Linked DNA regions of Homo sapiens: all the other regions are linked to region 5. The links are contacts of gene promoters, found by promoter capture Hi-C in blood cells and fetal thymus (Javierre and others, 2016). All regions are on one chromosome and are shown on one strand. The core of a region is centred on a gene start or on the middle of the fragment in contact, and the rest is flanking DNA. Distances in the headings are between cores, read along the strand shown.

Evidence for each region. The method cuts DNA at HindIII sites, captures the fragments that hold promoters and counts their contacts. A CHiCAGO score of 5 or more calls a contact.
Region 1: a fragment that was not itself captured here is called in contact with the fragment with the promoter of CCNH in region 5 in 9 of 17 cell types (total CD4 T cells, non-activated CD4 T cells, total CD8 T cells and 6 more); the score reaches 13.5 in total CD4 T cells.
Region 2: a fragment that was not itself captured here is called in contact with the fragment with the promoter of CCNH in region 5 in 2 of 17 cell types (total CD8 T cells and M2 macrophages); the score reaches 6.9 in total CD8 T cells.
Region 3: a contact is called between a fragment that was not itself captured here and the fragment with the promoter of CCNH in region 5, in 4 of 17 cell types (non-activated CD4 T cells, naive CD8 T cells, naive B cells and 1 more). The highest score is 6.4, in non-activated CD4 T cells.
Region 4: a contact is called between a fragment that was not itself captured here and the fragment with the promoter of CCNH in region 5, in 1 of 17 cell types (total CD4 T cells). The highest score is 6.3, in total CD4 T cells.

What each region holds. Positions count from the first base shown.
Region 1 is chr5:86,621,001-86,625,403 of GRCh38, forward strand. No RefSeq gene overlaps it. Among named protein-coding and RNA genes, the nearest start is that of SNORD138, 2.7 kb to the left of the region's middle. The HindIII fragment of the contact is 973 bases long and covers 1,860-2,832 here.
Region 2 is chr5:88,277,049-88,281,779 of GRCh38, forward strand. The region is part of intron 2 of TMEM161B-DT (TMEM161B divergent transcript); the gene reads left to right. Among named protein-coding and RNA genes, the nearest start is that of TMEM161B-DT, 11 kb to the left of the region's middle. The HindIII fragment of the contact is 164 bases long and covers 3,296-3,459 here.
Region 3 is chr5:86,602,032-86,607,100 of GRCh38, forward strand. No RefSeq gene overlaps it. Among named protein-coding and RNA genes, the nearest start is that of COX7C, 13 kb to the right of the region's middle. The HindIII fragment of the contact is 4,825 bases long and covers 252-5,069 here.
Region 4 is chr5:86,637,487-86,642,091 of GRCh38, forward strand. No RefSeq gene overlaps it. Among named protein-coding and RNA genes, the nearest start is that of SNORD138, 19 kb to the left of the region's middle. The HindIII fragment of the contact is 6,938 bases long and covers 1-4,605 here.
Region 5 is chr5:87,411,270-87,416,299 of GRCh38, forward strand. CCNH (cyclin H) reads right to left here and starts at 1,661. Exons shown (of 9, transcript NM_001239.4): 1 at 1,409-1,661; 2 at 1-77. The coding sequence starts at 1,525. It overlaps LOC105379066 (a long non-coding RNA gene), which reads left to right and starts at 1,713. Exons shown (of 3, transcript XR_948543.1): 1 at 1,713-1,792. RefSeq lists enhancers at 1,288-1,417, 1,448-1,617. The HindIII fragment of the contact is 6,680 bases long and covers 422-5,030 here.

The sequences.
Region 1 (4,403 bases), core at 1,096-3,595, 790 kb before region 5:
ACTTGGAAAAAATACTTTTGCTCTTGCCCTTTGACATAGTAAATTTTTTTTCCCATGATTGATTAATCATCAAGAAAACTTAATTTATTCAAATTGAAGTTGTGGTTAATCAGATATTTAGGAGCTTCATTTTTGTTTTTTTTCCTCTAGGTCTGTAACCTAAAACAGAAGTGTTTGCCTCAGTAAGTGTTTTGGTGACCAGTATTGGTCTTATTTAGAATGAATAAAAGAATATTTGAAATTGAATATAATACCATGAAATTTGTAGTATAGGAAGTACTCCCAATTTATTCTGGTGCTTTGACTATCATATAGCCTAGCAGAAATGGGATAAAAGGTAGTTCTGATTAGTAATTGTATATGTGAATCGAATTTATTTTGTAAGTAGTGAAATGCTGCTTGCCATTTAAAATGTAATGAGGTCATTACATTTTAGGACTTTGTGTAAGATGTGGGACAGTAACTAGCTACTGAGTATTTTCCTCTGCTCACTGTTGGAATACCAGTGATGTTAAAATGCTGTAAAACACTCCAAACTGGTAGTCTGTTTGGCCTCTAGACTTTGGTGAAAGGGTGATGCTCTTTTTAAATCAACATTTAAAAAACAGTATTTCCATAAAAGTGTATTTCTGGATTTTTGAAAAATTGTTCTGAGTGGTTCTATATCTCTTCATTGAAGAAAATAGCTGTGTAGGCCACTCCCCACTATATCATTAGATTTCTTATATGGCCCTTCTGTACAACTACTGATTTGCTAAAAACTTAACATTTTGATATTTTTGTTTCTCGACTACTGCCTCACTTTAGGCTCTTCAACAGTCACCTGACAACTGCTTAATTATGGTGCAACCTTAATTTATATGACTTTGCTCATATATCCCCTGTACTTGTATGTCATTGTTTTTTGATTATTCAGTGATAAATCAGGTATCCTGTATTGAGAGAGTTCCTTGTATGGAACATAAAGGTTTTTTATCTTTGGAAAAAGTTGAAGCGGCCAGGCATGATGGCTCATGCCTGTAATCCCAGCACTTTGGGAGGCCAAGGCGCACGGATCACGAGGTCAAGAGATCAAGACCATCCTGGCCAACATGGTGAAACCCCGTCTCTACTAAAAATACAAAAAAACTAGCTGGGAATGGTGGCATGTGCCTGTAGTACCAGCTACTCAGGAGGCTGAGGCAGGAGAATCACTTGAACCTGGGAGGCGGAGGTTGCATTGGGCTGCGAACATGCCATCGCACTCCAGCCTGGGTGATGGAGCGATACTCCGTCTCAAAGTAGAAGCAAGAGTAAGAGTTTAAGGTTCGTTAGATGATTTTGGTTTTCCTGGAAATTATGGTAAGGCTTACCTCACTGGATTGTTTTTGAGATCCAGTAAGTTATATAAAAACTTCTCACAAGTCCTAAATGAATATGAATTTTTTGGAGAGGATGTTCAAATATATATTAGGAATCAATAGTAACAGTTATGGGTAGCTAGGTCTAGCTAGAAAAGTATTTGAGGGATATATGTGAGTGAGAAAAAAACCTCCTCTGCCTGTCTTGTAATAGTACAGATTGTGCCATCCCCATAAAAAGCCTTCAGCAGGCTGGCTGTAAGTGCGTAAGTTTATTGTAAGTGGTAGAGGGTGTATAACTGCTTAGTTTCTGTGTTAGGGTTCTCTAGACAAGCAGATCAAGAGGATGCACATAGAAAAAATTAAAATTGTCATCTGATTCTGGAGGCTTGGGTTGAAAATATGGGTATGCCCGCGGGCTGGAGACTCGGCAAAGGCAGTCGCTGTCAGAATTCCTCCTTGCGGGAGGACCTCCTTGTGGTCAGTCTTTGTTCATTAAGATCTTCAACGAATTCAAGAAGCTTAGCCACATAAGGAGGATCAGCTTTACTCCAAGTCCACTGACTTAAATGGTAAACTCATGATAATTCAAGAAACACCTTCACAGAAATATCTAGAGGATTGTTGATCCAAATATTTGAGCACTGTGTCCTTGCCAAGTTGACACAAAATTAACCATAACAGTAGTTCAGTTTTCTATTTCCCTAAACTGGTTTTTAAAATTCAAGCCAATATTTAAAACCAGGAGGTCTCCATAAAAATCCAGATTCTCGGGGAAAAAAAAAAAAATTACACTGGATGAACCCACAAATGCCCATGTGAAACTAATCAGGACCAAGTAAAAAGTTTGTACCTTTTGCAGATGCTTCCCTAACTCACTAGAATACTGGAATAGGAATTTTGGTTAGAATCCAGGATTTGTTTTAAAGAGAAGTCACTATCACTGTTTCCGTAATTAAGTTATGGCCACAATGAAGGAAGTAATTCAAAATGTCTTAGGTTTTGCTGCAGAGACCATAGAGGTTAAGAATGTGGGCTCAGAACTAAGTCTTGGCTGGATTCAAAGCCAGGGTTGATAAATTCCTCGTCTTCGACAATCTGTACCTCCCTTTTATCTAATTTGGTGTAGTTGTGAAGATTAAAAATGAAAATAGAGGCCCAGCGCAGTGGCTCACACCTGTAATCCCAGCACTCAGAGGCCGAGGTGGGTGAATCACGAGGTCAGAAGTTCGAGACCAGCCTGGCCAACATGGTGAAACCCCATTTCTACTAAAAATACAAAAAAATAGTTGGGTGTAGTGGTGGGCGCCTACAATCCCAGCTACTTAGGAGGCCGAGACAGGAGAATTGCTTGAACCCAGGAGGCAGAGGTTGCAGTGACCCGAGGTCACACCACTGCACTCCAGCCTGGCAGACAGAGCAAGACTGTCTCAAAAAAGAAAACAGAAAAAAAAAAAAAGAAAATACACCTAAATTGAGGCAAATTTTCTTAAGCTTTTAGTGTAGAGTGCTTAATTGAAACAAGCGAGATGGGGGAAGTATAATGGGCATTGTGTAAGTCGTTAAAGTTGATCCCAGAGCAATTCTGCAATAGTTAATAGATTGGTCTGTGCTGTAGACACTGTGTCTTCAAAAGTGATGCCAGAATGATAGTGCTAAAATGCAAGTCATCATTTTACTCACTGTAAGACACCTCACCATGACAATGGTCACTTCCCTATAGTTTCAGCCTCATCCCAGCCATATCACACAGTTTTATGTACCACCTCCAAGTCTTAATTTAGCTCAGGTGCCACCTTTTCTATAAAGCCTTCCCTTTTTATTTTATTTTTTTAAGAGATAGGGTCTCGATTTGTCACCCAGGCTGGAGTACAGTGGCACAATCATAGCTGGCTGCCACCCTCCAGGGGATCCTCCTGCCTCAGCATCTGGAGTAGTTGTGGCTACAGGGGCTTGTCACCATCCCTGGCTAGTACTTTTTATTTTTTGAGGAGACTGAGTCTCACTGTATTGCCCAGGCTGGTCTCATACTCCTGGCCGCAATTACTCCTCCTTTGAGAGATTATAGGCATGTGCCACCAAACCCAGTCCCTTCCTGATTTAACACACTCCACATAAATCTCTAACACCCTGTAAACAGCCTTATAATTCAGCAGGTACTGTAATTACTGATTTCCTTATCTACCTTTCATACCAGCTTGTGATCTTTCTGAGCCCAGAGAGCCTTCTTTATTCATGTATCCTGCATCTATAATTTAGCTGGTGATCCATTAACACTCTATTCTATTAATCCTTTCAATAATCTGAAGCCAAGAATAAAAATTACCTAAAAACAAATTCTAGGCCTCTTACGCACTAAATGTATGTTTCAATGCTTTATGAATAAAAATGAATTTTTCCTGGATAGTTGGAAATTGGTTCTCCCACCAAACATAAATGTATTGAAATAATCCAGTTGAAAAAAAATGAGTTTAAATTTGCACCAAAATGTAACTCAACTATGTCACCACTGTTTAGTCTATCTGATATCTCTTTTTCTTTGCAGACAAACCCTTAATGAAGGAAAGTGTGTTGATATACATTCCAGGAAAGCTCTTCATCTTATATCAAGCCAGCATTTTAAGAAGCACTGGCTTAAAGAACTGGGGAATTTTTTATTTTTTTTAATCTTGTGTAACAAAAGATGGAGCTCAGGAATTTTAGGGCCCTCCAAGTTCCTCAGCCTGTTTTTTCTAAACCATTTCTTTCATTCTCATAAGATGGCTGCTACAGTTCCAGTTATCCCATACAGACTTGACAATACCCAGCAAGAAAAATTACTGTCTTTGTTATTTTTCAAAGTGAAGAAAGCTTTCCTTCAGACTATCCCTCATTAGTCACTGTCCAGAAAAGTGATAAATTCACTTCTGAATATAACACGGGCAAGGGAATAGCATGACAATGATTAAATTTGATCAATTAGCATTTTCTCACAAGTCTTACGTGGGCAGAGGAGATACTGAAACAAGTCAGGATTCTACCAGAAAGGGAAGAGAAAGTGGCTATTGGGTATGCAAAAGACAC
Region 2 (4,731 bases), core at 2,128-4,627, 870 kb after region 5:
TCCCTACCCAAATCTCATGTTGAATTGTAATCCCCAATGTTGGAGGTGAGGCCTGGTGGGAGATTGGATCACGGGAATGGGTTTCTCATTCGTGGTTTAGTACCATCCTCTTGGTACTGTCCTTGAAATAGTTCTTAGGAGATCTGGTAATTTAGAATTGTGTGGTACCTCTCCCCTCTCTCTTGCTCTTGCTCCCCCTTTGCCTTCCACCATGATTGGAAGCTTCCTGAAGCTGCCTCAGAAGCAGAAGCCACTATGCTTCCTGTACAGCTTGCAGAACCATGAGCCAATTAAACCCCTTTTCTTTATAAATTACTCAGTCTCCAGTATTTATAGCAATGTGAAAACAGATAATATGACTATCAATATACAAAAGTGAATTGCATTTCTTTCCAGCAGAAATGAACTGTTAGAAAATGATTTTTGTAACATACCATTTACTATATTCCTTTAAAAATATAAATTAGGTAACTTAACAAAAGGTATAGAAGACCTCTGTAGAAAATTACAAAACTTTATTGACAGGCATTTAAAAATGTCTAATTTTAAAATTGCCATGTTCAATGATTAAAAGACTCGAGTTAAGATGGCAGTTCTCCACTACACAATGAAGGTAATTGCAATACAAATCCCAAATGAGTTTTTCAAGGAGCTTGACAAACTGATTCTAAAGTCTGTATGACAAAAAGCAGAATTCAGGATACTCCAGAAGCAGATTTAAGATAGAATTGACTTGTAGATATTCGTAACAGCAAAAAAATAAAAACAACTCAAATATCCATCAAAAGATAAAATGTTTATCCATGAAAAGATACTCAAAAAGTGACACCTTTATATAATGGGATATATTTGGCTGCAAAAAGGAATGAACTGCTAATACCTGCTATAATGTGGATAAACCTTGAAAGCCTGCTGAAATAAAGAAGCCAGTCACAAAGGACCACTTATGATTCCATTTAAACAAAGTGTATAAAGTAGAAAATGTATTGAGACAATAGATTGTGGTTGTTTAGGGCTTACAAAGTTTGGGGTGATGGGGGCCCGAGGTAGTGACAGCTAAAGGGTGCAGTTTCTTTTTGAGGCAATAAAGTTCTAAAATGTATAGTTGCACGTTTCTGTAGATACACTAAAATCAATTCAGTTGTGCATTTAAATGAGTAAATTGGTATGTGAATTGTACCTCAATAAATCTGTTAAAACCATAGTAATTAGGATATTGTAATACTGGCTTAGAGATGGAAAAATTGATTTATAAGGAATCCTGATTGTAAGGAATCTTGACTTATGTCAGAGATGGCATTGCATACCAGCAGGGAAAGCTAGATCATTTCAATAGATGACGCTGCATATTCATATGGGGGAAAAATGAAATTGGTCCTCCCTACCTAACACCATACAGAAAAAGTAGTTTCAGATGACTTTAAGATGTAAGTGTGAAAGGAAAACATAGTAAACCTTCAAAAGAAAGATTGCAAAATATTTTTATGATCTTATGGTAGGGAAATGTAATATGTATAAAGGAAAACATGTATGTCCAATATGTTAAAGTTAAAAACCTCTGTTCAAGACTCCATAAACCCTCAGAATAGCGGTTAATTTCAGTCATGCCCAGGAAACATACAAGATGAGCCTGGAATACCTTGTGCAAGATAGCAAGGAAGCTATTAGAGACTACGAGGGTGTCATATCAAATGGACTCAGGAGACAACTGAAAAGCATCCTTCTGGCCATAGATGAGACCATTTGAGTGTCAATAAGGACAGTAAATGCAATTGATTGGAACATATCAAGTGTCTTTAAATCTGAGTACATAATGATTGTAAAACAAACAGCATTTAGTTGGTCAACAGTAGAAGATGCTGTTGCATCAATTCATTATTTTGAAAATCAGTTTTGTTTTGTTTTTAAAGTAATTAGGCATTTGTCCTGCCTTTTGTATGTGAACTGTAAGTAACCACATAGTAGATGAGGAGAGGGTTCTCTTTGTACATGTATTCTAGCTAATAAATGGAGGAATGATAGAAAATTGCCATTTTGAAATTCCTAATGAACAAATGGATTTATTTATTGCATTTCAACAGCTGCTAACATGACAGACAAGAAAACATATGTTTCTTAATGGAAAAACACCACTACTGATGTTAAAATCTTATCAAAAATTTGACCCTGATACTAATCAGGTCTTTAGATCCATCCAATTTGCAGAAAATATAAACACCATTAAAACTTTAAGCCAATGAAACCTACCACAACGTAATATTTTGGAATGGAAAATATAAATGAAAAATCCAATTTTGGAGAATATTGGGACAAATTAATTTCAACAAATATGTTGCAGGAGAAAAGGAGACGAGAAGGACAAGTGGAGAAAACCGTAGATTACAAGAGACTTAGTTCAATATGAAGCAACCTGTGAACTTGGATTAGTTATCTTACTGTATAACAAATCACCCTAGCTTAAATCTAAAAATATTTATACACTTTCTTAGGATCCACAGGTGGTTTAGCTAGATGTTCTGGCCCAAGGTCTCATGAATTTGCAGTCAAGATGTTGGCTGGGCTGTAGTCTGAAAGTTTGACTGGTGTTAGAGGATCCACTTCCTAGAGGGCTCATTCGTAGAGCTGCCTGTGTTTTCTCACAACATGGCAACTGGCTTTCTCTAGAACAGGTGATCCAAGAGAGAGACAGAAACCATGATCATTCAGAGTGATGTAACATTACTTCTACTATATAATGTTAGTCACACAGACATTTCCCTGACAATATGTGGGAGGAGATTACACAAGAGCATGAATACTGGGAAGCTAGCTGTCACAATTTGGCCCCAATGATTGATAGTTCTTGATTTGCAAAATATATTCATCCCCTCCAAAAGCTCTCCAAAGCTCTCATCCTATGACACCATTAGTTCAAGGTCTAGAAATCTAAATCAGTTCCAATTGTGGATGACACTCATAGGTGTACTTAAGTACAGCTCCTCAAGAAGAGTTCTTTTTGATCTGAAGACTCATACACTAAAGACACAGTCTCTGCTTCCACATGTAATAGAAAATGAATAGGATAATAAATGTGGACATGTATATTTAAAAAGAGGGAATATTGGAGGTACATAGGTTCACAGAAATTCTGAAACCCACCTGGGCACAGATTGGCAGTTGCTTGGTCAAGTTTCAAGGCCTAGAATTCTCTTAGCTCTGCCTTCTGGGATCTTGGATCTACTCACTGAGTCACCCTTTCTTTTTCTTGTTTACACTTCTGCCTGCTTTCTGCCTATAGAAGCTTGGATGTCCCACAAGCTTCTTTCCATTTGGTTCTCTCTGTGCCTTTCAGTCCAGGCTGGCCATGTTTCTGCTAATAGACTTCTCTTAAAAACTTTGTGGCTCACTTGTGAATTTTGAGTTCACTCCATCAGACAAAAGCAACAACCACACATCTCGTCCCACATAAACTCTGCCTCAAGCTTTTGCTGATGAAAATACCCTTAAACTTTTTAAAAACCTGTGATGTTATTCAGAGATTTTCTGAGACACATCGTTTGTCTGATGAAAATACTCTGAGGCACAACTTAAGATCTTTCTGAGCTATTAAAGGACTTTATAACTACAGCCTCAACTTTATGTTTTACTGGCAGTGCCCTAGATTTGCTTTTTGCTCAGAGATATTCCCCAATTTTAGCACATTTGTCATCTGCACAGGCTGGGAATCTTCAAATCCAGCAAGTTTTGACTTGTTTTTGTTTGTTTGTTTGTAATAGAGTCTGTTTTTTGCTGTGTTGGCCAGGTGATCTTGGACTCCTGGCTTCAAGCATTCCTCCCACCTCAGCCTCCCAAAGTTCTGGGATTTTAGGTATAAGCCACCATGCCCAGCCATGGCTCCTTTTTGTTTAACAGTCCTTACTTTGATGGTCTCTCTTCTCACACATTTTACTATCAGCAACAAGAAAAAATACACATGAAATATTTAACACTTGGCCGGCAATCTCCTTTGCTAGATCAATGAGTTAATTAGGCATTTTTTCTACTTTGTACATATCTGTGGATAACAAATTTGCTAAACTTTCTGCCATTATGTAACAAGGATCTCCTTCCCTCTAGTTTCCAAGAAGAGTTTTCTAATCTGTTAAGATGTCACCTGCAGCCTCCTCAAAGGTTATCTATTATGCTTCTATAAAAAATTTCTTCAAAGCTCTTCAAACTTTCATTAACACTCTCCTCCAAGTTCTACCTTCTGTTCACTGCCAGTTTTAAAACCACACTTACATTTTAGGTTTTTGCTAACACCCCACTTCTGAGTACCAAAATGTATACTGATTTTCTATTGCTGCATAATAAACTGCCCCAAAATACAACATGCAAAGCAATAAATATTCATTATCTCATGTAGTGTCTGAAGGTCAAAAATCCGGAAGCAGCATAGCTGAGTGGTTCTGATTCATTGTCTCTTGTGAAGTTATCAGTCAAACCATCAGCTGAGACTGTAATCATCTGATGTTTTAACTAGTACCAGAGGATACACTTTCACATGCTATTGGCAGGACACTTTAGTTCTTCACTAGCTGTTTAGCAGAATACCGCACTTCCTCACCACATGTACCTCTTCATAGAGCTTCCTGGCTTCCTCTAAAACAAGTAATCCAAGAGAGAAGCAGAAGCCACCATGGTTTTTTATGCCGTTGTTGACCTAGCCCCCAAAGTGACATATTATTACACAGATATGTAGCCAACCTGTGG
Region 3 (5,069 bases), core at 1,414-3,913, 810 kb before region 5:
ACTAAGAAACTTAATCTGAAGGACATAGAGAATAGAATGGTAGATAATAGAGGCATCGGAGGATGTGAGGGCGGGAGAGGGAAATGAAGAGAAGTTGGTGAAATGGTACTCACAGTTAGATAGAAGGAAAAAATTCTAACATTCAGTAGTTGACTAGGATGACTATAGTTAGCAATAATATATTCTACATTTCAAAATAGTGGAAGAAAGGACTTGAAGTGTTACCAACACGTAGAAATGATGAATACTTAAGCTTATAGATCACCCAAATACTCCAACCTTCTCATTATACCTTCTATGTATGTAAAAATTACTCACACGTACTCCATACATATGTAAAATATTGTGTCGTAATAAAAGAAAAAAAGTAACAATTTCACACTTAAAACATAGTATTTAATGTAAATTCAAATTGCCACATCATTCATTGTTTTCAGTGAACGGTCATTGATTGTCTTTATGCAGGGTACTTACGATAGATACATCAGTAATCAGATAAAAACCTAACCCCTGGCCCTCTGAGAGATTACATTCTAATAATGAATCAGCTTTTTAAAAAATATTTTGGACCTACCTACTTCATTGGCCAATCTAGACAATGAAGCAAAAAGAGAAAATTAATTAAAAAGTGGCATGGAGGAGGATACCTCCAAAGGGGATTATTATAGGGACATTTACTAATAGAACACTCTAAAGCATCAAATATTTCAATTAACCCTCATAACAAGTCCATAAAGTGGGTAACATTATTGTCCCCACTTGAAAGATAGGGAAATGTTATGCAACTAGCCCAAAGCTAAATATGGTAGATCTTGGATTGAACCCATGTCAGTCTGATTCCAGGTTATAGTGTGTTCCTTGGAGTGTGCAACTCTGGGGAAATGTGTAGGAGCAAGAAAACCACAGTAGAATTATGAGGATTTTTCAGCCACTGTAACAAAGCCCCAAGATTATATTTAACCACCGGATATTAAATTCCTGTGGAGTCACTCCATAATACTCCAGCAAGAAATTAGAAAGTCTCTGAAGAAAACAGTATGTCTTAAACCAAGCTATTTCCAATTTCCTCTCAAGCACACAGAAATCCCATATTTCTCAGACCCCTGTCTTCTAGGTAGTAGTGTGTGAATCGAGTAGAGGACTCCAAAGAGACCCTAGAAGATGATGGCACTTAAATTATCACGTGGAAGATCACATGCTTAACATCTGATTCAGATTATGACATGAGTGAGAAATAAATTGTGTTAAGCCACTAAATTTGGGGATTGTATGTTACATTAGCTAGCTTCAATTATGTTGTCTGGCCCAGGCTCCATAAAGCATAGAAGAGAAAACTTGATAAATTACACTGCAACAACTTTCTATGTGAGGAAATTTATGATTTATGATTTATTAGTTGATTTACATGTTAATATTATTCCAGAAAACATTTGACGTGCCAAAGAAAGACACACACTATATAACAAGATAAAATAGATTTTAAATTGAGAAGTAAAGTGAAGCAAAGGTGAATTTAGAAAAGAAGATACAGCCAGGAGTAGGGTACACAAAATACATTCATCGTTTCTACTGAAGATGGATCGCATATTTGGCTCTAAGTTTTCTAGGAACCTAAAGAGGAAATCACAGTGAAGTTCATTATTAACAGTACCCATAGGCAAACAGGCAAAAAAGCAAGTCAGCTACTCGGAAGAAGCCTGTTTATTCTAGTCTAAGACCAGAGAGAAATTTTTCCTATGGGTCCTCATAAAAATGACACTGTGAAGTGTATTGAACCACATCCTTAGGAAAAAAATCCTCACAGTAAATCCATAAATGAGTTTTATAAGTCTGTTATTTATAAAAATCCCTTAGCACAAGTAGGAAAGAAGATGGCCAAGCACAATTCAGGGATAATAATACAGTTTTCGAATGCTGTTCAATGAGGGATGTGAAGAGAACTGGTAATTAAACCTAACCCACTTTGTGTAATAGTTTTATAATTAGCTGACATGTTTAAAACAACTCTTTGTTGAATGCAGTCATAATTTACACAAAGGGCACAGATGTTATTATCAAGTAAATTCCATTTTTTCAAAATTATAAGTCCAAACTGAAAAGCCAAACACAGAAACTGTTATAACACAAATACCTTTTGATGGACTATATGTATTAGTTCATTCTCACACTGCTATAAGAACATACCCAAGACTGTGTAATTTATAAAGGAAAGAGGTTTAATTGACTCACAGTTCCGTAGGGCTGGGGAGGCCACAGGAAACTTACAATCATGGCAGAAAGAGAAGCAAACACATCCTTCTTCACATGGCAGCAGCAAGGAGAAGTGCAGAGTGAAGGGGGGGGGTAAAACCCCTTATAAAACCATCCGATCTCATGAGAACTCACTATCACGAGAACAGCGTGGAGGTAACCACCCCAATGATTCAGTTACCTCCCACAGGGTCCCTCCCACAACACGTGGGGATTATGGGAACTACAGTTCAAGATGAGATTTGCATGGGGACACAGCCAAACCGTATCACTATTTTAACAATGTAGTTGCCAACAAACACATTGTTTAGAGGATCAGAGTGCCTCTCTGTAGTCTCACCCGAATAATAGAAATACAGCAGCAGCTTACATACATTGATCAATAGTATTGGACCTGGTTATAAATCATGATTTTCAGGGAGTTACTTGCACAATTGTTTATATTCAACATATAGAATACAAGAACGTTAGTTCTACTCTCAAATCTCTCCTATATTTATTTTGCTCCTACTCTGGAAAAAGTCTTTCTTTTTAGAACAATGCATCAAATTTATTATAAAAAACCCTTCATCATTTAAATTATGTTTCCCTAAAAAGAATAAATGAAGCTACTTAATCATTTGGTATTCTAGTTATAAAACAAAGCACGAGATACCATAGTAATTTCTTTTTTCTTTTTTTTAAGAGTCTCACTCTGTCGCCCAGGCTGGAGTGCAGTGGCGTGAGATCTCGGCTCACTCCAACCTCCACCTCCCGGGTTCAAGCAATTCTCCTGCCTCAGTCTCCCCAGTAACTGGGACTACAGGCGTGTGCCACCACACCTGGCTAATTTCTTGTATTTTTTTTGTTTTGTTTTTAGTAGAGACTGGGTTTCACCATGTTAGCCAGGATGGTCCCGATCTCCTGACCTCGTGATCCGCCCGCCTCCGCCTCCCAAAGTGCTGGGATTACAGGCGTGAGCCACCGCATCCTGCCTGTATTTTTAGTAGAGATGGGGTTCCACCATCTTGGCCAGGCTGGTCTTGAACTCCTGACCTCATGATCCACCCACCTTGGTCTCACAAAGTGCTGGGATTACAGGCGTGAGCCGCCACACCCCGCCCTACTGTAGCAATTTAACAAGACCTGGTCAAAGCAGTAACAAAGTGTCACAGCAAGTTAAGCTAAAATGGAGATGGAATATAAATATAACGAGACTTGGTGATTTTCAAATTGAGAAATATTAGTTTCTGTGTTTATCTTATAAATATGTATCTACCCATACTTGGTAATTCTCAATGACAAATGGTTGTATTATGAGATGATTCAAGAAAAGTGAACCATTTTTAAACCTAAATTAAGGTAAGACAAATAAGTTGGAATGAAAAACACGAAACACTTTTAAGGGAAAAAATGGTATCCAAAGGTAACGAGACGTTTTTTCACTTTGTTTTTTGTCTGTTGTTTGGTTTAGCTTCTGATATTCTAAATCATTTCACCTTCTCATACTCTCTTGGTACAAACTAAGTCTTGTCAAATCTCCTTGGAGTGGATTTGATATTTGGAAATACCCAGAAGTTATTTTGGAGCCGAGACTGTTGAATAAAGCCATCCTGTAGCATATATATTTTGAAACACTTGGGGAAAAAATAACATTTTTAAAATGTATCGTATAATTGAACATACTTCATTCTCTGACAATTTCTGTCTCCTTGGACATTAATTTATGCAGTTGTGCTAGGTGACAAGCAGAGGTGGATCATAAGGAGGCACTTTTTAGATAAAAACCACAAAGCATTAAAAATAAAACATTAGGTGTTGAAGTGAAGCGGGGGTGGTTACCTCCATGCTGTTCTCGTCATAGTGAGTTCTCATGAGATCTGATGGCTTTATAAGGGGTTTTACCCCCTTTCACTCTGCACTTCTCCTTGCTGCTTCCATGTGAAGGACAAACACACAAAAGTAAAATAATATTTTAATCATTAATTGCCTGATACATTTCTATAAGACAGTTTCCTATAGTTTTTTGTTGCATACCTTTTGATCACCCCTTCATGTGACAATTTTGCAATATCATTTTCTATGGAGAGACTATAAAGAAGATCCATTATTTCTCCTAGCAAGATAGATCAGACTTGGAGCAGGGGAAAGCAAGAAAGAGCCCTGTGGGGATGGATTAAAAATTGAGGTATTGATGAAAGATGTGATTTCTTTTTCTTTTTTATTTTTCCTTTTTTGTTTTTTTTGGTTTTTTTTTTTGAGACAGAGTCTTGCTCTGTTGCCAGGCTGGAGTGCAGTGGCACGATCTCAGCTCACTGCAACCTCTGCCTCCTGGGTTAAAGCGATTCTCCTGCCTCAGTCTCCCAAGTAGCTGGGACTACAGGCGCGTGCCACCACACCCATCTAATTTTTGTATTTTCAGTAGAGACGGGTTTCACCATGTTGGCCAGGATGGTCTCTATCTCTTGACCTCGTGATCCGTCCGCCTTGGCCTCCCAAAGTGCTGAGATAACAGGCATGAGCCACCGCGCCTGGCCAGATATGATTTCTAAAATGTGTATATGCATCTGCATTTTCATGTTTATGTACACGTATATGTTATGTGTACATACATAACTTCTAGGAAGCAAAGGCATCCTAGTAGCAGTGAACATGCAAAACACCCAGCCCTTGATCTTTATTACCATTTACCACTAACAAAAACCAATGAGCATTCTTCATAGAGATTCTGGTTCCCAGGACTGACATAAGGTAGGTATAAATAGGCCAGGAATATCTTGTTATGAAATAAAATAAGAAATATTAAAAAATAAAAAATGATGAGGACACATAACAAACAC
Region 4 (4,605 bases), core at 908-3,407, 770 kb before region 5:
GCCTATAACTTCAACCTCATCCTCTTATACACTGCTTACTATAGAGCAGGTAATAAGTATCTGTTAAACAGCAACAACAAAAAAATGAAAGGGGCCAGGTGTGGTGGCTCATGCCTGTTATCCTAGCACTTTGAGAGGCTGAGGAGGGTGGATTGCTTGAGGTCAGGAGTTCAAGACCAGCCCTGGCAACATGGCAAAACCCTCAAAAAAATTAACTGGTCATGGTGGTGCGTGCCTGTAGCCCCAGGCACATGGGGGAGCTGAGGCAGGAGGATACCTTGAGCCCAGGAGATCGAGGCTACAGTGAGCTGAGATTGTGCCACTGCACTCTAGCCTGCGTGACAAAGTGAGAGACCCTGTCTCAGAAAAAATAAAATAAAATAAATAAATATAAGAAAAAGAAGAAGCACAGAAACTGAACGTACACATGAGATGGATACAATTAAGTATAAAAAGCTGTCACCTGAGAGTGTATGTTCATCAAAAAGAATGATCTCTTTCCTCTATGGTGGTGGCAATTCCTTATTTGCCATTTTAAAACTATTTCTATTACTGTTATAAATATCATTATATAGAAAAAATTCTAAGTGTAACGCTTAGCCAGACATTTGTTAGTGTGGCAGATTGTATTTATCCACATTTGGACACAGCAATATATATCCCATGTCACATTCTTACAATGTGATATTGATAACGCCTCCATTAAATGGTGCATCTATGTTCCCCCTTGAACCTGAGCAGAAATTTTTAACTCAATCCATCAATAATTGTGGTTAAAAAAAAAAGGTCATAAAAGATAATAAAGGTCTTAGCTTGCTCTCTTTCTCTCTTTGGGGGTCCGGAGTTAGCATGTAAGAAACCGGACTATCCTGAAGATTCCATGCTGGAGAAATCACACAGATCACAGAGATGGAGCAAGAGGCCCAAGCAGCCCCAGATGTTTCAGTCCCAGCTGTTTGAATTTTTGCAGATGATATACCAGTAAGGTGAGTAAAGAAACTTAGGAGCTGACTCAGCCACAGCCACATGACTGCAACCTCATGAGACACCTTGAGCAAAAACTTTATGGCTGAGCTTCTCCTGAATTCTTGACCCACAAAAACTGTGTATTAAATGATTATTGTTTTATTAAATTTTGAATTGATTTTGTACACAGCCATTATGAATGAAAGAACTTGCCTAAGCAAAAGGAATGACTGCCAAAGCTCTAAGATCTGGGCCACCATATGAGATAATGTAGATTTTACTGATTCAAAGAGCTAAACCCTTACCATTATTAATTTTCTAAAAATTTAGTGTTCTGAATTCAGTTTTCAAGTGCTGTCGCTTACATTTTCTCTTACAATTTGATTATGTAAGTTGTCTGTACTCATGCATGTGTGCACACACATGTATGTGTGTAAACCTGAAGGTAAACTGCAAATGAGTATATTTCTAAGAATATAAATTTGGGAGTACAGAAGTGCATAATATCCATAAAAGTTATAAGTTTCATGCAATTAAAATCAGACTTGTCTCTTTAATTTCTCAGGTATTTCAAAGTCCATTTTTGCAGCTTTGCAGTAAAATATACTTTGATGTTAGAATCTGCTTTTTAGTTCTTAAAAATAGATCAAGTTAATAGTTATTTCTATTTTGTATCAAATGGATACATTTTGTGTTCTACCCAAGGTTTCTCAGCCCACATACTCCATCAACATTTTCTTATATATATATTTTAAAACTGTTTCTGATGGGTTATTATCTAAGGGTGGGTTGGTAGAGATTTGATTTAATACATTTTCTTAACTCCAAAAATAATTTTTTCAAACTAAAAGAAGATACTGCCTTTGCTGATTTTAAGTTTATTACAGCAAAAATACCTTTTATATCAATATTTCACAGTCTATTTTTAAACCAATAATTATCAATAATCTAGCTAATTCTGTCATTAATTTCTTTATTACCTTGAAAGAAAGAGAAAATCCATACAGACTAAGCAACAAAAAATTCCATATTTAATGGAAAACATTTTGTTGCCAAGCGGGGAACCCAACTCAGCACTGAGTTTGAGCTATGAATTTTAGAAGATGATATAGGAGGTAGGTCTTTTAAAGCCAAACATATCTCTGTTTCATTCTGAAACGTATTCAAGAGTTGCAGACTAGCTGGCAAAGTGTGGGCTTGTCAATAAGGTAAAGGCTGAGTTGAAGGGAAGGTGGCTGCTTCTTTATAGATGGAGCACCCACCTGAAAACTGTGGTGTTCAGCTACCTCTGCTGCACATGTGAGGTGGCCAGCTCAGGATTATGACACAAGTTAGAGCTGTACCACTGTCAGCAAGTGAGGTAATGGTTTGCCAACCATATTAGATGTTAGTTACTCCGGTGTAATAGAGCAATTTGTGGACAGGAAACATGTTTCTCCTATTGTTTACATGAGGATCACTCTTAATATTGCAACAGCTATTGGTAAAGCCTGTTGTCATTACCCCGTATTTCTATCTACTGGCTGCTCTGTGCTTCCTACAATTTTGAATCCTGTTGGTAAACTAATAATGAGATATACTAGTCATTATATATGTAAAAAGTTAGAAATAGTGAAACCTAGATCTGATACTAAGAGTAGAGCTGCATCAAAGGAGAATTTAGCTCAAAAAAAAAATTCAAAATATTTTTGTAAAGAGGAGGGAGGGAGAATTGCTTTATTTAACTCCTTGTCTTTTATCAAGAAACTGCGTCAGCTCCCTTTCCAAACTAGACTGTGGCCTGACTGCTAGGACCACTCTAATCTTTTTATTCCATTTTGAGGAAAAAAAAATTTAATTCTTAGTTTCTGAGCTTCCAAAGCCTAGTTTCTGGATATTTAAGATAAATGTAATAGATCCTTCAAAGGTATATTTTCATTCTAAGAGCAATTTGTATGTTACCTGCTAGAACCAACATCCTTATTAGCTGCAACTCCTAGTTCCCATTTCTAAGAGTCCTTTTTTGTTGATGTGAATTCTCAGAACTTTTCTATTCTACCTTTCAAAGAAATGTTTCCATATTATTTAATGTTCAGAGGTAATCTGAATTTAATTTTCCTTTAGAAAATGTCAAGAAAATCTTAGATATTTTGTTATGTAGAGAAATACGGAAGGATCTGTAAGAGTAAATACAGAAAAAAATTTTCAAAAAGTAGATTAATTAGAAACTGGGAAAACAAGATTTATCAAAAAGAGAATTTTGAAAATATATCAGAAAAAGTCAAGAGGGGAAGGAAACTCAGATTTGATGGCCAATAATTAGTACCAATAATACTTCCTGCTTCCATTTCCTCAGTTTCCTTCTGCTTAGATCTAGTTATTCTGCAGATCAGGATTAAAATCAGAGATAAGTTAGGAGAATAAAGGAGACACAGAGAAATAGTTTAAGACGCTAAGAAAAGTAAAAAAAAAAAGGACCAGTGGCACACAGAATTATATACCAGATATCACAAAATTACAGTTTATTACTATAAAATAAAAAAATTTGGGAAAAAAATCAGAGTACAATGTGTATAAACTGAGGTTAAGCATCTATTATATGATGTGAATTGCCTGATTATATTCTTTGCCTTGCTTTTTGTTTTGTTTTGCTTTCAGTTTTTGGTTGGAATGTGCATCATTATTCACTTACTGATTTATAATGGCTTTTTGTCTTTTAAGGAAATAAGCCCTTTGTCTTTCGTACTATTTATGTAAAGGAGACTTAAGTGCTTATCTTAGAAAGAAATGGGGAAAATAAAGGTGAAACACTAGCTTCTATTATAAAGATAAAGAACTTATTGTTAACAGAAGATTCCTATGCTTCCAGTTTCCATTATCTTCTGTTTACTTCAGTTAATAATAAACTTTAAACGAAGATTTCCCTGCAATGCTGTTATGTTTGAAATTAAAACAATTAATTAAGTGGATTTAAAATTAAAGAAGACTTTGTTCTTAATTGGAAATCAATTGGCTTTGGATATATGAGAAACCAAATGGTAATGGGACACAATCAAAGTAAATTTAGATGATAAAACTTGTGTCTTCCCTTTCAGTCTGATAAAGAACAACATTAGGTGAAGATATGCCTGGAAAATACTGCACAGTTATAAAAAACTAACAGTAAAACCTCAAATTAAGCTACAACTAAAAGCATGTATTTTCAGAGCCACACTTCATAGCTTCTCTCCCCATCTGCATCACATCATTAAATCAGCACAGAGAACTTTAAAATACTATGGCAAGTAATTTAATAAGAATGACTCAATGTACCTGATCCAATTTTTCCGCTGGATAATAAAAAGGTGAATATGAGAGCATTCAAGATTTTATCCAGTCTCATGGTTTTAAATACCATGTATAAGCTGAGGTCTCTCAAATCTTCATTTTCAATCTTCACATCTCCACTATGATCCAGACACATATACAGCTGAACGGTTGCAAATAACCAACAGCTGAGCCCTTAGATTAAACTATCATTATAGACAAAATCATGTATTTGTCAGATCAATAACTAGACATCCTTAGTCCTCTCTTTTCCCCACCCTTCTCCTCCAATCCATTAGCAAGTCCTGTTTTTGCTCTCTCCTAAACATACTTTCATGTCCAATTGTTTCTCAC
Region 5 (5,030 bases), core at 411-2,910:
AATAACCTTTTCTCATAGTATTTGCAGAGTGTCATTTCTTCATGAGGCTCAAGAAAGACTGGATCATTCGGAAGAACCTTTAGATCAACAATTACAACACAAGTTCAATGAATTCAATGAATTAAACAATTGTAAAACATTTTTCTCTATCTAGATTAAATTTAGTTTATATATCCAACGAAGGGTATATATCACGCCTCATTTTCTTTATAGATTCGCTAATCATTACACAAAATAGCTGTAGGAAAATATTTAATAAACTAAAACTGTACCATCATTTCACGACTTTTCGGAATGTCAGCTAGACCTTTGCTTCATTAAAGTATAAACAATCATGACAGGCTGTGTGCACATGCTCACAGTTGTGATATCATTATTTATAAATTAAAAAGTAGACAGACTTTTTAAAATATGATTGGAAAGCTTCCAACATCCGTTTCTCGGTCAGTCATTACGTCACAAGTTGTAAAAAAACAGCAAATGTTTCAATAAATTTCTGTTATTTTAAGCTACCCAGTTTGTGGTGATTTTTTTAAGGCAGCCCTTAGGAAACTAATTCAGGTGCTAAAATCAGTGATATGAAATAGATGTGAATTAAAGGTAGAAAGTAAAGTAACTCAGTATCGGTAATTTGGAGGCACTGAACACTTGCTGGAGTGGAGCTTGCAGGAAAGATTAAACCAGTCCGAGAGCTGTAACAGAAGGAACTTGGCTAGCGGGCCATAGTCCAAACCATCTTCAGTCACTTGGTTTGTACTTGGTCTCTGGTCTCCCTCCCTCATCCAACCCATTCACCACGAGGTTGCTAGAGCGCTGTTTCCAGAACGGAAATCTGATAAGGTTAGCTTCCCATTTTAAATATTTCAAAGGTTCCTCATCCTTTCAGTGGAAATGTTAAACGCCTCACTTCCACTTACAAGTTCCCTTCCTACCCTCCCCAGCCATTCCTGCACAGGTACTCAACTTCGGCCACATACGACCACAAACACGTCCACGCACCATCTCTGTAACTTCTGACCTCCCTCCCACTCTGAACGGTGGTTCTGACTGCCTGGAACTTCCTTTCCCATTTTCTCCGCATTGGCTACTGGGAAAAACCTTCCCCAACATCATCTCTTGACAAGTGAACGGCTCTTGCCACGCACTACCTTAGCACACTACTTACTCTCTTCTTCACTACGTTACAAAGACTGGTTACTTGTCTGCCATTCGACGACGGGGATGGCGTTGTTCGTCTTTGTACCCACGGAACCTGGCAAGGTGCTCGCTTATTTTGATAGAAAAACGCACTCCGCGCCGCAGAGGCAGAGAAACGACGGAGCGAGATTGTCCTGGGAGCCAGAAGAGCTCCCGCAGCTGCTCAGAATTTAGTGACCGGGCAACTGGGCAACCGTTGGGAAAACCTCACCTTCCCGTTGGCCACGGCTTTGCATCTGAATTTGCGGTTGGCGTCAGCCCGCAGTCTTGCCAGCTGCTCCTCGCTGGAGAAGGTCCAGTGCCGCTTCTGACTACTGTTGTGGTACATTATGGAATCGTGACCAGGTCCAGAGGGTCTGCAGACGAGAACCCAAACGCATCAGCGTCCTGGCGTAAAACACCCGTACCCCCACCGAAGATCTCGCGGAAGCCTAGGGCGTCCGGCTAGCCGGCGCTGGCGCGCTGTCGTCACGATTACGCGGCCAGCCCGTACGCAGTTGCATTTCCGGAGCGGACTAGGAACAGACCGTATCCCGGGTTCGTTAGGGCGCCCACTGAGACGTAAGTGGGCGGAGCCTAGAGAACGCTCCTCTCGGTGAGTCTGGGACATAGCTCCGCCCCTTCCAGGCAAGATTTAAAGGAGAAGCGCCCGGCAAGAGTGTTCAAGGGGCATAAACTGAGGGTACGGAGTAGGCAGATGTAAATTCACAGGGGATAATCAGAAATGAGGAAAGGATTTCGTAGGGTGCTCATTTTTAAATAGAGGCCTCACTGAAGTTGACATTTGTGAAAAGGCTTGAAAGAGTTGAAATAGTAGGTTGATCAATCATGTAGGGAGATCACGGGGCCCAGAAAGAATAGGTAAGATCTTCAGGCAGAAGCATTCCTAGCCCTTTTCAGGAAGAGTTTGGAGACCAGTATTCTTGAAGCACTACCAGAAATCTCGGAGAATGGAACATGGCTGAAAAACTTGAAGCAGTGGATGCGTATTGGCCCTTACAGTTCTGCCACTTTTGTTGCCTTGTCTGTTCTTTCTCTGTGCTTTTTTTCCTTACCCTTCTGTTGATAACTAGCCAATCCTCTCCCTCTGTTTTCATCTCTGAAGCCAGGATGTATGGTAGTATTCGTTTTATTGAGATTCCCATTTTCATTGCCTCTAGGGAGCCTTACAGTAAGCTATCATGAAAATTAAGGTATTTACTATTTTTTAAATTAATAGGACTTTCAAAATTGCAGGTGAGGTTCAAAATTTACATGGATTCTGGTTTGTCCCATTTAGGCATACCTTATTCTCTCATGTATTTATTATATATCCAATCCGAAAAATGGATTTCCCTATGGCAAATAGCTTTTCTAAAAAATAAATAAATAAATAAAAAGAAAGAGAAAGATGATGAGACCTAGAGAATTTAGGTCTTGAAAAGCCCACACAGGTAAAAAGAAGAAGTGGCAGGATGACTTTAACTCTGCTTTCTATTAAAATGTTTTTAGGGGCTTAAGAAAGGGAAAGCCTTTTCTTTTTCATTTTTGTTGGGTACAGCTGAGGTTAGAGTTTGCCACAGTTATCTGAATTCCTCAAACTTATGCCATTTGTGGTATATAATTTTGGAGAGCCACACACTCAACATATGTGGCTAACCTGGTCTCATAAATTGGCTAAGAAAAGAGAGAAAAAGAGAAGATCAAAGGGCATGGCAAATTGATTACAATGAATTGTGAACAACCTAAAATGTTGCATGTTGGGGAAAGAATAATTTAAAAGAGAAAAACATAATGGTACAAAAGATAGGAAAATAAGTGATCTAGATAATTAAATGTCTATATAAAGTCTTAGCCTCATGACTGTTATATATATCATATAAATTCTTTTCATTTTGTTTTTCTGAAAGATATTTGACAACTCCTTAGTTTTATGTAAAGGATAATAAAAATAGGCATTTAAAAGAGTTGGCAGACTGTGATTTCCACAGAGATATGAGTAAAATTTCTGAATGTCATTTAGGAAAAATATATGAAAAACCTGGCATTGCTGGTGTAATTTTTTTTAAACCTTGAACAAATTTTAGTCCATGAAAATTGACATTGATCTTATTTTTCAGATGTAGTAGGAATTGGGCTCTGTCTAAATTAACTGTCTGAGGAATACAATTGTTGCTGATGCCCTAACATTAAGGCTCATGTATGGTTTTTCTTACTAAGGTAAGCAGACTGGATGCTGTGACAGTCTCCTACTCAGCCTGTTGTGCGACAGTGTTTCTTTGCTATTGCTACCACAGGAGGCACACTGGAATGCAGAACTTGTGCCTTTACCTATTTCCATTTCTAGTTTCAACTAAAAAGTAGCAAGTGTTTCTCTTCACTTCTATTATTTTTACTTATTTATTTATGGAGAATTTCAAATATAAAGAATACAGAGAAACATATTTCAAAAATTATCAATACATGGCCAGTTCCCTTCTACCCTCCACCCACACCTCCATTAGGTTTTTTTCTTCTTCTTCTTCTTCTTTTTTGAGACAAAGTCTTGCTCTGTCACCCAGACTGGAGTGCAGTGGCACAATCTTCGCTCACTGCAACCTCCGCCTCCTGGGTTAAAGCCATTCTCCAGCCTCAGCCTCCTGAGTAGCTGGGACTACAGGCTCATGCCACCATGCCCAGCTAATTTTTGTATTTTTAGTAGAGATGGGGTTTCACCATGTTGGCCAGGCTGGTCTAGAACTTGTGGCCTCAAGTGATCCGCCTGCCTGGGCCTCCCAACTCCATTAGTTTTAAATCACAATGTCCCTGCTACTAAATGAAGATATTTCAAACAAGAACAAACCAACTAACCAGACAGAACCTATTCTTCCTAGAAGACATAGGGAAATTCACAGCTTGTTGACAAAGATATCACTATTTCATTAGACACTACTCAGAAGTGAAATGTTAAGAAATATTTCAATGACTTTTAAAAGTAAATACAATCTCTTTTATTGTGCTGCAGTTGTTAAATTGTGCTATGGTATGTACTTGTAGACAAATTCCAAATATTTTGACTTGCAGGCATTACCTGTAAACTAAGGGTTACCAATCAGAGATTAGGTGATGCCAAGCAGGTGTCATCTGTTTGGCCACCACAGAAATGTCCTGTACTTATCCACGTGCTATTCCAAAATTTCCCATAAGAGTATTAGGATTTCCTTTCTCTTGCTTCAGGACAGTCTTCCTTCTTTGCGGTCTACCTAGTGATCTTAATGTTTAGGGAAAAATAAAAGTAAAAAGGTCATATTGCCTGATCTTAGGAGAAAAGGAAGAAAAGGGGAATTAAAAGGTTGTGGGAGTGACCAGTAAATATGTTTGCAACTGAAATAATTTTGCAGTCTAATATAAAACATCTTATAAAGTGGCCAGATTAATTTGTAGTCCTCATTTCCCAAACACATCAGCATACTCACGTTCACACCATTTCTGATTGCAGGGCCACTCACACACACACACACACACACAAAAGGGATAGAAGAGACCAAACCACATCTATGCTCACAAAAACACACAATATCTTTCTTACTTTAAAATCTAACATAAAACTGTATGCCTTCAGCTACTGACATGGATTCGTGACATTTAAAATACAGCTTTACAATGAGTATTTAATAACCCTTTGCAATTGTATTTGGTTAATACACAATTAACAAATTTGTATTTGCAGCATTGGCTGCAAAATCCTTTCTTAGTTTTATTCTCAGATGTCAAGTTACAACTAAGAGAAGAAAAGGAGTCGCCTGAAGCAAGTACCTGGTTTCTAGAAAATAGAATACTACTAAAGGAAAAGAAATAAGAAGAAGAAATAGCAT